Regions from separate parts of the Homo sapiens genome. Here regions 1, 2, 3 and 5 are each linked to region 4. The links are contacts of gene promoters, found by promoter capture Hi-C in blood cells and fetal thymus (Javierre and others, 2016). All regions are on one chromosome and are shown on one strand. The core of a region is centred on a gene start or on the middle of the fragment in contact, and the rest is flanking DNA. Distances in the headings are between cores, read along the strand shown. Region 1 has its middle 46 kb from the start of TRA2B. Region 2 holds the start of ETV5 (ETS variant transcription factor 5). Region 3 has its middle 7.8 kb from the start of TRA2B. Region 4 holds the start of RFC4 (replication factor C subunit 4). Region 5 has its middle 29 kb from the start of TRA2B.

The links. Contacts are between HindIII fragments. The CHiCAGO score rates a contact against its expected background, and 5 or more counts as called.
Region 1: a contact is called between a fragment that was not itself captured here and the fragment with the promoter of RFC4 in region 4, in 3 of 17 cell types (total B cells, activated CD4 T cells and naive B cells). The highest score is 6.9, in total B cells.
Region 2: a contact is called between a fragment that was not itself captured here and the fragment with the promoter of RFC4 in region 4, in 3 of 17 cell types (endothelial precursors, fetal thymus and erythroblasts). The highest score is 8.0, in endothelial precursors.
Region 3: a contact is called between a fragment that was not itself captured here and the fragment with the promoter of RFC4 in region 4, in 11 of 17 cell types (naive CD8 T cells, non-activated CD4 T cells, total B cells and 8 more). The highest score is 9.5, in naive CD8 T cells.
Region 5: a contact is called between a fragment that was not itself captured here and the fragment with the promoter of RFC4 in region 4, in 2 of 17 cell types (naive CD8 T cells and total CD4 T cells). The highest score is 8.7, in naive CD8 T cells.

Annotation. Positions count from the first base shown.
Region 1 is chr3:185,982,445-185,985,144 of GRCh38, forward strand. No RefSeq gene overlaps it. Among named protein-coding and RNA genes, the nearest start is that of TRA2B, 46 kb to the left of the region's middle. RefSeq lists an enhancer at 1,100-1,621. The HindIII fragment of the contact is 7,977 bases long and covers 1-2,700 here.
Region 2 is chr3:186,106,418-186,109,117 of GRCh38, forward strand. ETV5 (ETS variant transcription factor 5) reads right to left here and starts at 2,672. Exons shown (of 13, transcript NM_004454.3): 1 at 2,523-2,672. RefSeq lists enhancers at 1,395-1,454, 2,213-2,700 and silencers at 2,225-2,324, 2,355-2,700. The HindIII fragment of the contact is 3,357 bases long and covers 1-2,700 here.
Region 3 is chr3:185,944,455-185,947,154 of GRCh38, forward strand. No RefSeq gene overlaps it. Among named protein-coding and RNA genes, the nearest start is that of TRA2B, 7.8 kb to the left of the region's middle. The HindIII fragment of the contact is 4,953 bases long and covers 1-2,700 here.
Region 4 is chr3:186,805,227-186,807,926 of GRCh38, forward strand. It overlaps RFC4 (replication factor C subunit 4), which reads right to left and starts at 1,256. Exons shown (of 11, transcript NM_002916.5): 1 at 1,064-1,256. RefSeq lists enhancers at 812-1,423, 1,424-2,035. The HindIII fragment of the contact is 2,364 bases long and covers 1-1,889 here.
Region 5 is chr3:185,907,835-185,910,534 of GRCh38, forward strand. No RefSeq gene overlaps it. Among named protein-coding and RNA genes, the nearest start is that of TRA2B, 29 kb to the right of the region's middle. The HindIII fragment of the contact is 3,858 bases long and covers 1-2,700 here.

The sequences.
Region 1 (2,700 bases), core at 81-2,580, 820 kb before region 4:
CGGACTTCCTCATCTCTTAAAAAAAAAAAAGGAAGAAAGAAAAGAAAAAAAAGAAGACTGAGACAGGCCAGGGCTGTCATGGATCAGTCCCAACAATTGTTCCTGGAAAGCATGAGAAGTCCTTCCAGGATTTAGAACCAAACTTTGCAGTGGCTGATCTGAAATGAGACTGTGCACTTTAGGGACCTCAATCTCACATAACAAAGAAGGGAAAATAACTTCCAACTAGTCTGAGACATTTTAATATTTGTTGACAGTGGACAAAAGATTCCACCCACTATCCTCTCCCAGTCCTGCCCAACAGTCTCCAGGCCAAAGGAGGGAAAGGATTCCCTTTGCAGTTGTTCAGGTAGAGACTTGGGGACCCAAGAGAGGCACAGAAGGTGGAAATAGGGCCGTGCATCTCAGTGAACAAGAGCACCCTTTGTTGTCCAGGAGTAGATTAGGGTTGGGGGTGTGGGCGATGGAATAGAAAGGATGCAGAAGATCTCTCTCCGTGATTCCAGAAATGACCCTAGAAATTCAAGCTACAAAGTCAGATAATCCTGGATTTGATTGCCTCTGCCACTGACAAGTTGTGTGAACTTGGTCAAGTTACTTGATTTCTAGGCTTGGTCTCCCCATCCTCACTGGGGACTGCTGGGGGGACTGAAAGATTGAAAGCATGAGAGGCACTTTGTATAGTCTTTGCCAGGTAGTAAGTGCTCAAGAAACAGCTGTAATTATTCTCTCTTCTCTCTCTCTCTCTCTCTCTTTTTTTTTTTTTTTTTTTTTTTTTTTTGAGACAGAGGCTCTTGTTGTCCAGGCTGGAGTGCAATGGTGCAATCTTGGCTCACTGCAACCTCCGCCTCCCGGGTTCAAGCGATTCTCTCTTGTCTCAGCCTCCCGAATAGCTGGGATTGCAGGCGCGCGCTGCCACGCCCAGCTAATTTTGTATTTTTGGTGGAGACAGGGTTTCTCCATGTTGGTCAGGCTGGTCTCGAACTACTGACCTTAGGTGATCTGCCCTCCTCGGCTTCCCAAAGTGTTGGAATTACAGGCATGAGCCACGGCGCCCGGCAAAAAAACAGCTATAATTATTGTTGAGCATAATTCCTCCCCTTGCCTCCTTCATATGCCTCCCAAAATTCTGAAGTGCCCCCTGGGCGGTTCCCAGTGTCGCCTGACCTTGGCCTCCTGGACTGCAGGTTCATCTTGCTCTAACCGCCCGCTGCCCGGTGTCCCGTCCCTTCCCAGCTTCCTTCTCCCACCACTAGATGGCAGTATGAGTCCAGCATAAGAAAGGATCGCTCCAGCCTCATCCCAGGTGATTTTTTCCCCGGGCTTTTTTGGGGAATAAAGCCAAAGGAGATAGTTATACGGCGCATCTTAAAGCCTTGTCGGTTACCCTCCGTGGCCATTTCGACAGACATGCGCTGGTCACCTTCTCTGGGGTGAAGTGCCTTCTCCGTGCCGGATTTGAGATTAAGGGAAGGAAAGGGAGGACCAAGGGATTATCCAAAGACTCCAGCACTGGCTCGCCCCATGCAGAGGAAGGCCCTCAGGCTAAGGGTGAGCCTTCTGCATAGAGGGGTCTCAGACCCTGCTCCAGGAGTGCAGAGCACAGGGCCTGCCCTTTCTCCGCCTGGCAGCCGGGGCCGAGCCTTGCTGGATGCTGGTGCTCCTGCTGCTGGCTTCTCCGCTGGCCACACTGCTTGTCATCCTCTCCCCAACCCAAGGGACCTTTGCAACTCTGAAATCCCATCAAGACTACACAAGGGGCAGAGACAATTCACTAAAAGGAAACTGGGGCACTGTTAGGAAGTGCGTATTGAACGGCCCTCAGGCACTGTCCATTCTCCCAAGTAACAGAGCAGAACACTCTGGCAATGTAGTCCTGACTTGGACTCCTCATAGGAGTGAGCAGGAAGGCAATAACATGAATTTTAAACCATCTCGAGTAGAAGTTGCTATAGCATTTCTTTCTCCTTCCTTCCTTCCTTCCTTCCTTCCTTCCTTCCTTCCTTCCTTCCTTCCTTCCTTCCTCCCTCCCTCTCTCTCTTTTTTTTCTTTCTTTCTTTCTTCTCTCTCTCTCTCTCTTTCTTTCTTCTCTTTCTCTCTCTTTCTTTTCTTTTTTTTTTGAGATAGAGTCTTGCTCTGTCACCCAGGCTGGAGTGCAGTGGCGCGATCTCGGCTCACTGCAACCTCCGCCTCCCGGTTCAAGTGATTCTCCTGCCTCAGCTTCCTGAGTAGCTGGGATTACAGGCGCCCCGCCACCACGTCTGGCTAATTTTTGTATTTTTAGTAGAGACGGGGTTTCACCATGGTGGCCAGGCTGGTCTTGAACTCCTGACTTCATGATCCGCCTGCCTCGTCCTCCCAAAGTGCTGGGACTACAGACGCGAGCCACTGCACCTTGGCTGCTATAGCATTTCTGACGGGCTGCCCCGCTGAGTGTTGCAAGAGGATTAAAAATGTACACACCCTTTACTTGGCAAAACTCCTAAGAAACCATCTTAAGTAAATAAACACAAATATAGATAAAAATATAATTTTGAGGATTTTATATGAAAGTATTTTTTCATGAGAGCAAAAATATAGAAGTAAGCAAAATGTTCAGCATTTAAGAAATGGATAATTAAATTATTGAAGTTTAAAAATTCCTTTAAACTGTAAATTCTTTAGAACTAGCATTTGTGACGAATTTTTACTGAGAAAAAT
Region 2 (2,700 bases), core at 90-2,589, 700 kb before region 4:
AAAAGCATTTTGTAGGTCACTGTTAAAACACTATATATAGTTCCTGGAATAAATTGATCAGAGGTATACTTATCTTCACACACAACTCTTTATTTAAAAGAGGACTAAACAGATATAGCATCTGTAATGTCACAAATATCTCCCTGGTTACTTACAGAGATATTTGTGACATCTCCAACTTCTAAAAGAGTAAAATGTCTATGAAAAGTAATGGATTAAAAAAACTAATTCCATTGCATGTGGTACAATGCATCTCTACCAAAGGTCTTTTAAAACTTAGGCTGTTTCATATAGCGGAATCATTTTTTTCTAGACATACCCCCCCACCCCCAAATGAAACTCATTTCAGGACGGGTAAGTGTGTGAGTCTGGGGAAAAAGGGTGGGGTTAGAAGGGAGAAAACTTCTCCTAACGTGAGTGGAATAAAGTAACAATTTCAGGGAGGTACCATCTTCCTAAACACTTTTATTCTTCAAATAAAAACACCGTTAAGTCAACAAAAGGTGGAAAAACATTAATTTCACTCACTCCAGCTCTAAGCAATTCAAAATGCTTAAAGGTCAACTTCTTTTGTTTGACATATACACAATTTTAAACAGGAAACTTTTCCCCCGGTGAGCAATTCCATCCAATTTGTTTTTCACACTGTGTGTAGCATATCAAATTTTTCATAAGTGGGCAGGATACAAGGACACCCTTCACAGCCAGCATCCTCCGCAGCACTTTGGCCCAAGGAATCAGATATTTTCAAAGTCAAAGGAAAGAGAGGAGCAAAATAGCACACAGTTCATAACTTCCTAGAAAAACACTCGCGCCAGCCTGCCTGCGTGCCCCGTCCAAACACCACAAGAAATGTTCAGAATAACGCCTCTCTCAAATGCCACCAAACCGTATACAAAATCTGAGAAACCTCAGCAGTGAGTTGAGGGGCATGAAAGAGAGAGTGCTCTGTCGCTTAGGAAAATCTGTCAGATTAAATCATGGCCTAAGACATTTTGTGAATGTGTTAGGAGGAAGGGGACAACCAGTAGAAGACGGGAGGGGGAGATATTTTTCAGTCTCATGATGAAATACTTCACCCGGAAGAGCAAAAAAAATTCTAAAAAATTAAAAGAAATAAACTGCCATAAACGAACGGAAAAGAGGCATTCCAGGGTTAGAAAAATTGTATTCCAAGTATAATTTTTTTAAAAGCCTGAAGGAAAGGCTCGAGTTCATCCAGGAGTTTAAACCACTTCCTTTGCCCCCCCACCACCCGCGCCCCGGGCGCCCCCAGGAAAACTTTAGCACAGCGCAGCGGCGCGATCCAGGCCCCTCCCCTGTGGCGCGCAGCGGGCCCGGTTTTATGAATGGGAGAGCGAGCCGCGGCCGCCACATCAGGTAGAGGCTGTAACTGGATCTCTAGCGCTGGGCCCCATTCACAAAACAAGACACACTTCCACCCAATTCTCAGCCTTCCCCATTCATGAAAACTCCTTCAGCTGCGCCCCCGCCCCCATTTCCAACGCACGCCCAGCCTCCGACGCAGGCCCCTCACCCCAGCGTTTTAGGAAGAAAGCTCAATGCTTCATTCACAAAAAGGGAAGAAAAAAAAAAAAGCCGCAGGGAGCAGCGAGCCAACGAAAGAAACCCGCTTCATTCATAAAGTCACCCACATTCATAAAAACGAGGTGCGGCGCCCGGCGCTACCAACCGCTTCCAATCCCCCCACCCCCAACATCTCTCCCTGGCACCCCCTCGTCGACCAGGAGTTCGGTTCCCCCCCGAGTTTTCTCCACCCTCTGAAAATGCGGCCGGAACCCTAATCCGCTGCGAGGCTGCAGCATCTTTCGGTGCTGTCCCCTCCACACCCGTGTTATCCCCACCATCCCCAGGCCGCTGTTCCGGTGCGCCCCGATTTTCTCGAGTCGCCGCACAGCCGGACGCCCTCAGCCTGCTGGGTGGGAGCAGGGCGACTGGATGTCCACTTTCCACCACCTGAAACTTGCAAGGCCTGCGTAAGTTCCTGGTCGACCCCCGCCCCCGCAGGCTGCACTTGCCTGTGTCATTTACCCCCTCCCGGTGCTCTGGGGGGCAGCGCCTCTCAGACATTCCCCTCAAACTGCTTCCCGCCCCCTCCTCCCAACTGCGGAGCTCCGCCAAGCGTCTCTTCTCGCGAGCCTCCAAGTCCCCTCGGGGCTCTCGAATCTCCAGAGACTGTGAAAGCCTCGCAACTCCGCGATCCCCCATCCACTCGGGAGCCCCCGCACTCGCGCTCCGGGGCGCCTCCCCCACGACGTGTGGAAAGCCGCTCTCCCCGCGCTCCGGAACCGTTAGCCGCACCCGCCCGACGCCTCCCAGGAACCAAACCGGACCGGGCCGCGGGGGGAGGGGGCGGTCAACCCGGGGGGGGTCACCCCAGCTACTGCACCCCGACTTTGAAGATTCTGAATCAGCCCGTGAACTCTAGCCGGCTGGGCCTGTCGGACCAGTGGCCGGACGCCCCTTCCGATCTCCCCCCTGCCCCCGCAAAGCCCCCTCACCTGAGGCGGCCTCTCTCCTCCCCTTGCAGCGGCCCCGGCGGCGCAGGCGCGCTCACGCACGCGCGCAGCGGGCCTGGGCGCCTGGGCGAAAGGCTGGGCCGAACCGCTCCGAAGACGGTGAACCGCTCCGCGCACCAGCGGCTGGACTCTGCGCCGCAGCTGCCAACCAGGCTGGAGC
Region 3 (2,700 bases), core at 181-2,680, 860 kb before region 4:
GGAGTGCTCTCAGAGAACTAATGCATCTCTGTATAAAAAGTGACTGAACACCCACTCACTACTTGGAAGTATGAATGTGGAAGTCAAAAACTTTGAGACTTCATTAAGGCAGGTCTTCACGAACCAGCTTAGGACTGAGTGGAAATTAAGAACAACATTGAGTTACTATGCTGACTATGGCTACGTATTGTAGATAATTGAGTTGAAACAACCAATCACTTTCAATGTTCTGAACCCTAAAAAAGGTGGATCACCTAAGGTCAGGAGTTCGAGACCAGTCTGGCTAACATTGTGAAACACTGTCTTTACTAAAAAATACAAAAATTAGCCGGGCGTGGTGGTGCATGCCTGTAATCCCAGCTACTCGGGAGGCCAAGGCATGAGAATCACTTGAACCTGGGAGGCAGAGGTTGCAGTGAGCAGACATCGTACCATTACACTCCGGCCTGGGTGACAAGAGTGAAACTCTGTCTCAAAAAAAAAAAAAAAAAAAAAAAAAAAGAGAGAGAGGCCGGGTGCGGTGGCTCACACCTGTAATCCCAGCACTTTGGGAGGCCGAGGTGGGCGGATCATGAGGTCAGGAGATCGAGACCATCTTGGCTAACTCGGTGAAACCCCGTCTCTACTAAAAATACAAAAAATTAGCCGGGCGCCGTGGCGGGCACCTGTAATCCCAGCTACTCAGGAGGCTGAGGCAGGAGAATGGCATGAACCCGGGAGGCGGAGCTTGCAGTGAGCCGAGATAGCGCCACTGCAGTCCGGCCTGGGCGACAAAGCAAGACTCCTTCTCAAAAAAATAAAAAAAAAAAGAGAGAGAGAGAAGAATGAAATAAAAGACTTTCTCCAGATACTTAAGATAAATCTGGGAAAGAGAGGAAGAGAATAAAAATTAGAATACCCAAATAACAAAATTTAGAGCTCAAACATTAAACATATGAAGAAAATGTTTTGTCTTAGAATTATTATTATGTTACTAATATAGGGTGGGGATAAAAATTCAAACAATAAGAAATGTGCAAAGTGAAAAATGCAAACCCTATTTTCTATCCTCTCTTTCCCAGTCTCGCTCCTCAGAGGTCACCCTAGTTAAAAAATGTAGTGCATAACCTTCTAGACCTTAGATAGATAAATTTAAATTTTTATTTTTATTTTTTTATTATTTATTTATTTATTTTGAGACGGAGTCTTGCTGTCTCCCAGGCTGGAGTGCAGTGGCAAGATCTCGGCTCACTGCAAGCTCCGCCTCCCGGGTTCATGCCATTCTCCTGCCTCAGCCTCCCAAGTAGCTGGGACTACAGGTGCCTGCCACCACACCCGGCTAATTTTTTGTATTTTTGGTAGAGATGGGGTTTCACCATGCTAGCCAGGATGGTCTCGATCTCCTGACCTCACGATCCACCCGCCTCGGCCTCCCAAAGTGCTGGGATTACAGGCATGAGCCACTGAGCCCAGCCTTAAAATTTTCTTTTCATAAACAAATGGAATCATGCTATACATATTTTTTATTTTTTAATTTTTATTTATTATTTTTTTGAGACAGAGTCTCACTCTGTTGCTCAGGCTGTTGTCTCGAACTCCTGACTTCAGGTGACCCACCCGCCTCAGCATCCCAAAGTGCTGGGATTGCAGGCATGAGCCACCATGCCCCGCTCATATTTTTAAATTTTAACATGGTATTCTGTAACTTGCCTTTTTCACTTAGCAATCTAAAATATGCTAAATATTGTTCCACGTCAGTACACATAGATTTATCTCATATTTTAAAACAGTTGTATGGTATTCCGTTGCAAATATGTGCCATAACCTATTATACCATTCCTATTTATGGAGACCTGGAGGGTGAGAAGCCAGCCATTTAAAAAGCAGAGAAAACTGTGTTCCTGGGAAGGGATTAGCAAGGTCACAAAGGCACTGGGGTGAGGATGTTTGTCGGGTTCCAGGAACAGAGAGACCCAACCATGGGATCCCAGTGGGTCCATCTGAGGACCAGAGACTGTGGTACAGAGAGCAGGGCTTGGACTTCCTGGGGTTGTTTCCTGCCTCCACAGTAGCTCTCTGAGAGACCCTGGGCAAGTGTAACCTCTGTGCCTCTGTGGCTTCATCTGTGAAATAGGAATGATAATAATACCTACTTCCTATGCTTGTTGTCAGGATCCAAAGAATTACTATTTTACATAAAAAGCCCTTAGAACAATGTCTAACTCATAATAAGTCAGCAGTGATTATGCAGGTCATGGAAAGGATGTCAGATGTTATTTAAGTGCAGTGGGGGCTGGGCACGGTGGTTCACACCTGTAATTCCAGCACTTTGGGAGGCCAAGGCAGGTGGATGGGTCACTTGAAGTCAGGAGTTCGAGACCAGCCTGGCCAACATGGCGAAACCCCGCCTCTATTAAAAAAATACAAAAATTAGCCAGGCGTGGTGGCAGGCACCTGTAACCCCAGCTACTCGGAAAGCTGAGGCAGGAGAATCTCTTGAACCCGGGAGGCAGAGGTTGCAGTTAGCCAAGATCGTGCCACTGCACTCCAGCCTGGGCAATAGAGTGAGACTTTGCCTCAAAAATAAATAAATAATTAAATAAATGCAATGGGAAGCTATCGAAATGTTTTAATTAGGGGGAATGTCTTGACTCAGTTTTTATTTTTATAAGATTACATTCCCCATTGGATGGAGAATGGGTTGGAAGGAGGTAAAAGCTA
Region 4 (2,700 bases), core at 6-2,505:
GTTGTTGTTTTTGAGACAGGGTCTCACTCTTTTGCCTAGGATGGAGTGCAGTGGCGGAATCATGGTTCACTGCAGCCTTGACATCCCAGGCTCCTGTCATCTTCCCACTTCAGCCTCCCCAGTAGCTAGGACTACAGGTGCGTGCCACCACCCCCGGCTAATTTTTTAAATTTTTGGTAGAGACAGGGTTTCACCATGTTGCCTAGGCTGGTCTGGAACTCCTGGGCTCAAGTAATCCTCCTGCCCCGGCCTCCCAAAGTGCTGGGATTACAGGTGTGAGCCATCTCGCCTGGCCAGGGACCTATTTTCATGGCAGAGTCAATGCTTACCTACCTTCAGAGACTTTCTGTGGGGAAGGGAAGGTGGGGGACTCTGTTGTTAAAATAGAAACAGCTGTTTTTCTCATAACACACTCACTTGAAGAAATCAAAACAATGCATAAAAGCATGAGAGATTTAAAAAAGTAATACAAAATCCCACCCAGAAGGTAACTATTTCTAACATGCAGGTAAACATTCTTCCAGGCTGTTTTCAGGGATAAAAAGCATCATTAGCTCGCCTGAAAAGTCCCCGGTTAATTCTATTTTTTTCACTGCTACATGCCCTGGTGCCTAGAACAGTGCCTGGTACATGGTAGATGCTCCGTAATATTTGGTGAATGAATTACCATCTATGATACCCGGTTTCCTTTTCTGTTAAAGGAGCTAAGGCCTATTCCACAGGACAACTGAGTTAAATAAAAGAATGTATGCAAATACATAGTTCCTTGCTTGGCATATGGGGATATGCTCAATAAAATAAATTTTTAATATCTGTTAGCAGCCAAGGTTTTTATAACGTTACTGGATTAGTCCATCCCTGCCTCGGGCTGTTAAACATTAATACAGCCCAAAGCCGGGGCCTGCAAGATGCTGTCCGGAACCACCATTTCACCAAAGGGCGCGGCCAGGGCATGAAAGGGCCACTAGGCTGGGGCCCCGAAGGAGGTGGAAGACCTCACAAGGGGCATCAAGGGCAGGAGTGGGGAAGGCGAAGCGGGCTTGCAGTTCCTCCAGCAGGTTACCAGTTAGCCTGGCTTCTCGTGCAGGTCACCGCCGCCGGCTCGTTCCTCAGGTTTCCGCGATACAAAAAGGACGAGATGGTCTCGAAGTCTTAGCTCCGTCACCTAATCTGAGAATAACGGGCCCAGGAGACTTACGATCACTGATGTCCCCACAGTCGCCTCAGTTCCCGCCACGGAACGGCGGGCGAAAAGCAGGGCGGGAATACGCCGGTAGGAATACGCGGGCACGTAACGCGTCACTTCCGGTGCTGGGGCGCGCTGCTTGCGGAGGGAGTTTGCCCGTATACGGTTTTATTTAGGCAGGTGATGAGCCAGCCGGACTTTCAGGCAGAACTGGACTGGAACAGGCATGGCCTAGGAGGTGTCCCTGTCCCGGTGCATTGCTCCCACTTCAGACGTGAGCGCGACCCTCCCGGAAGGAGTAGAGGTCGCGCGGGCACGGCGCTGGGGCTGCTTACCTGGCAGGCTCAGCAATGAGGGCGGGGCGGCGGCGCGCGGGCCTCTGGAACCCTGCCGGTCCACCGAAGGTCCCGAGCCCGCTATCTTCGTAGGTGCGGGCCTCCGGAGGTGCAGGTCCCTGTCCTCCTTGTCCTGCTTCGTCGCAGAGCAGAACGCGTGTGCTTTAAGGGCAGAGACATCTGAAGATGCTTTGCCTTGCCCTCTTGAGGACACGTGGCTTTTACTTCTAATAGTGTCTGCGTGTTGTGGAGAGAGAAGACCATGCAGCTGTGGACATCTATTATAATTCCTGAGCCCCACTTAGAAATCTGGAAGTGAAGGCGTTCAATAAAAGTTAAAGGACTGATAATCATGTTTAGCCCCACCAAGCTTCATGCACAGTGGGCTAGGCTGGTGCCTGAGCCCACTGCTTTTATCTCTTCCAAGTACTTGGTTTAGCTCTGAAATGCTCCTTAATCCTATTGAAACCTGACCCTTCTCAAAGGCCACCTTCTCTACTGGTCTTTACTAATTACTAACCCATAAGGTTGTTCCGGGTCTTCTTCAAATGACTGTTTTGTTTGGCACAAACTCAGCATGATATCCATTGTTAACTTTGTACGTTTTTTTCATTTATCTTGCAACAAATGCTTACAGAATGTCCACGCACTGTGTTAGATGCCTGCAGATACAGCAGGGAAAACGCTCGAGATGCCCTCAAGTAGCTTTACAGACTAGGAGAGTGACAGACAATGTGATGTGTGGTTATGCAGAGGAAGTAGGGGGCTGTGAGAACTTACATCCCAGGCCTAACCCAATCAAGGGTTTAACCAAAGTAAGGATGCTTTATGCTACTTTGTAATTTCCACAGAGTCTGATACAATCTCTGGACAGTATAAAAAACACACAGGTTATCTATCTGGTCACCGGTTTACATTACCATAACTTATCAAACTGTATACTTAATGCTTGTATATTTTATTGTATGTAAATTATACCACAATACAGTTGATAAAACAAGATCTATGAAAATAGATGGTATCCATTTGCTACCTGAAGGAACAGCACAACCACAGAGAGGGGGATGTTATGATCTCATTTAACAGACAAGTTGGGCTGGGCACGGTGGCTCATGCCTGTAATCACAGCACTTTGGGAGGCCGAGGTGGGCGGATCACCTGAGGTCGGGAGTTCAAGAC
Region 5 (2,700 bases), core at 27-2,526, 900 kb before region 4:
GTGGTCTTGAACTCCTGATCTCAAGTGATCCGCCCACCTCGGCCTCCCAAAGTGCTGGGATTGCAGGCATGAGCCACCACGCCCAGCCTATTTCTTTCTTTTAAAAGACAGAGTTTCCTTATATTGCCCAGGCTGGTCTCGAACTACTGGGCTCAAGGGATCCTCCTGCCTCAGCCTTCCAAAGTGCTAGGATTACAGGTGTCAGCCACCACTCCTGGCCCTACTCTCTTAATAGTGTTTTTAGGTGACTGGAAGTGCTTAACAGCTTTATTAAGATGAAATCCGTCTGCTTAAAGTGCAAAATTCCATCGCTTTTAGTATATTTACAAAGTTAAGTGACCATCACTACAATCAGTTTTAGAATATTTTTCCTCAGGCCCAAAGTGACTGCCATACCTATTAGCAGTCACTTCCCCTTCCTCCTGCAAATTGCCGTGCCTAGGAAACTACTAGTCTACTTTCTCTGCATAGAACTCTCTGTTCTGCATATTTCATATATATTAAATCATGTAATATATGGTCTTTTGTGACTGGTTCCTTTCACTTAAAATGTTTTGAAGGTTCATTCATGTCAGCATGTATCATTACTTCATTCCTTTTTATTGCCAAATAATATTCCATTGTATAGATATATCACTTTATTTATTTATTTATTTATTTATTTATTTATTTATTGAGACGGAGTCTCGCTCTGTCGCCCAGTCCGGAGTGCAGTGGCGCGATCTCGGCTCACTGCAAGCTCTGCCTCCCAGGTTCACGCCATTCTCCTGCCTCAGCCTTTGGAGTAGCTGGGACTACAGGCGCCCGCCACCGCACCCGGCTAATTTTCTGTATTTTTAGTAGAGACGGGGTTTCACCATGTTAGCCAGGATGGTCTCGATCTCCTGGCCTTGTGATCCGCCCGTCTCATCCTCCTAAAGTGCTGTGATTACGGGCGTGAGCCACCGCGCCCGGCCCGGATATATCACATTTTATTAATCAATTCATCAGCTGAAGGAACATTTGGGGTGTTTCTGTTTTTCGGCTATCACTAATAATGCTGCTATGAACATCCACGTACAAATTTTTGTGTGAACCTATGTTTACGATTTTTTGGGTATAAACCCAGGAGTAGAATTGCTGAGTTGTATGGTAATTCTATGTTTAACTTTTACTTATTTATTATTTTTTTGAGACAGAATCTTGCTCTGTCTCCCAGGCTGGGGTGCAGTGGCATGATCTGGCTCACTGCAAACCCCGCCTCCCAGGTTCAAGTGATTCTCCTGCCTCAGCCTCCCGAGTAGCTGGGACTACAGGCACGCACCACCACGCCCTGCTAGGTTTCTTTTTTGTACTTTAGTAGAGATGGGGTTTCACCATGTTGGCCAGGCTGGTCTCGAACTCCTGGCCTCAAGTGATCCGCCTGCCTCAGCCTTCCAAAGTACTGGGATTAGAGGCTTCAGCTATCACCAGTAACTTCTATAAAGCTCAACAAAGGTAAAGTCAAGGGCAAATCTTCTCCCTCAAACCAACTTCTTTCTTTCTTCTCATTTTTAACAGGGCCACTGCGAGCGGCCAGGAGCCCAGGCTCGCAGTCAGCAACTCTTCCTTTCCCATTAACTCCCATAGTCTTTCACAAATTCCTATTTGTCCTTTTTTCCAAATGCCTCTTGCATTTTTTTGAAATGTAACAATTTATTGATCAATATAAATGAAATAAAATTTAGAATTTATTTCCAACTTTGCTATATTGCATAGTAACGAGACTCCATCTCAATAATTATGAATTTCCATATCTAAATCCAAAGATTCTTAGATTTGTAAGAATTTGGAAGTTATTTTCTATCCTCCCATTTTATAGAAAAGCAAACCAATGCCTGGAAAATTAGGCATATTTTAAACGGTCTTACATTAATTAATTGTAAAGAGAGTAATATAATGAAGTCTCCTGTCTTCTAGACAAGTGTATTTTTTTTTTATTTATTTAAGTTCTAGGGTACATGTGCACAACGTGCAGGTTTGTTACATATGTATATATGTTCCATGTTGGTGTACTGCATCCATTAACTCATTTACATTACGTATATCTCCTAATGCTACCCCTCCACCCTCCCCCAACCCCATGACAGGCCCCGGTGTATGATGTTCCCCTTCCTGTGTCCAAGTGTTCTCATTGTTCAGTTCCCACCTATGAGTGAGAACGTGTGGTGGTTTTTTGTCCTTGCAATAGTTTGCTGAGAATGATGGTTTCTAGCTTCATGCATGTCCCTACAGAGAACATGAACTCATCCGTTTTTATGGCTGCATAGTATTCCATGGTGTATATGTGCCACATTTTCTTAATCCAGTCTATCATTGATGGACATTTGGGTTGGTTCCAAGTCTTTGCTGTTGTGAATAGTACTACAATAAACATACATGTACATGTGTCTTTATAGCAGCATGATTTATAATCCTTTGGGTATATACAGTAATGGGATGGCGGGGTCAAATGGTATTTCTAATTCTAGATCCTTGAGGAATTACCACACTCTTCCACAATGGTTGAACTAGTTTACAGTCCCACCAACAGTGTAAAAGTGTTCCTATTTCTCCACATCCTCTTCAGCACCTTTGTTTCCTGACTTTTTAAAGATCGCCATTCTAACTGGTGTGAGATGGTATCTCATTGTGGTTTTGATTTGCATTTCTCTGATGGCCAGTGCATTTCTTACTTTTCTC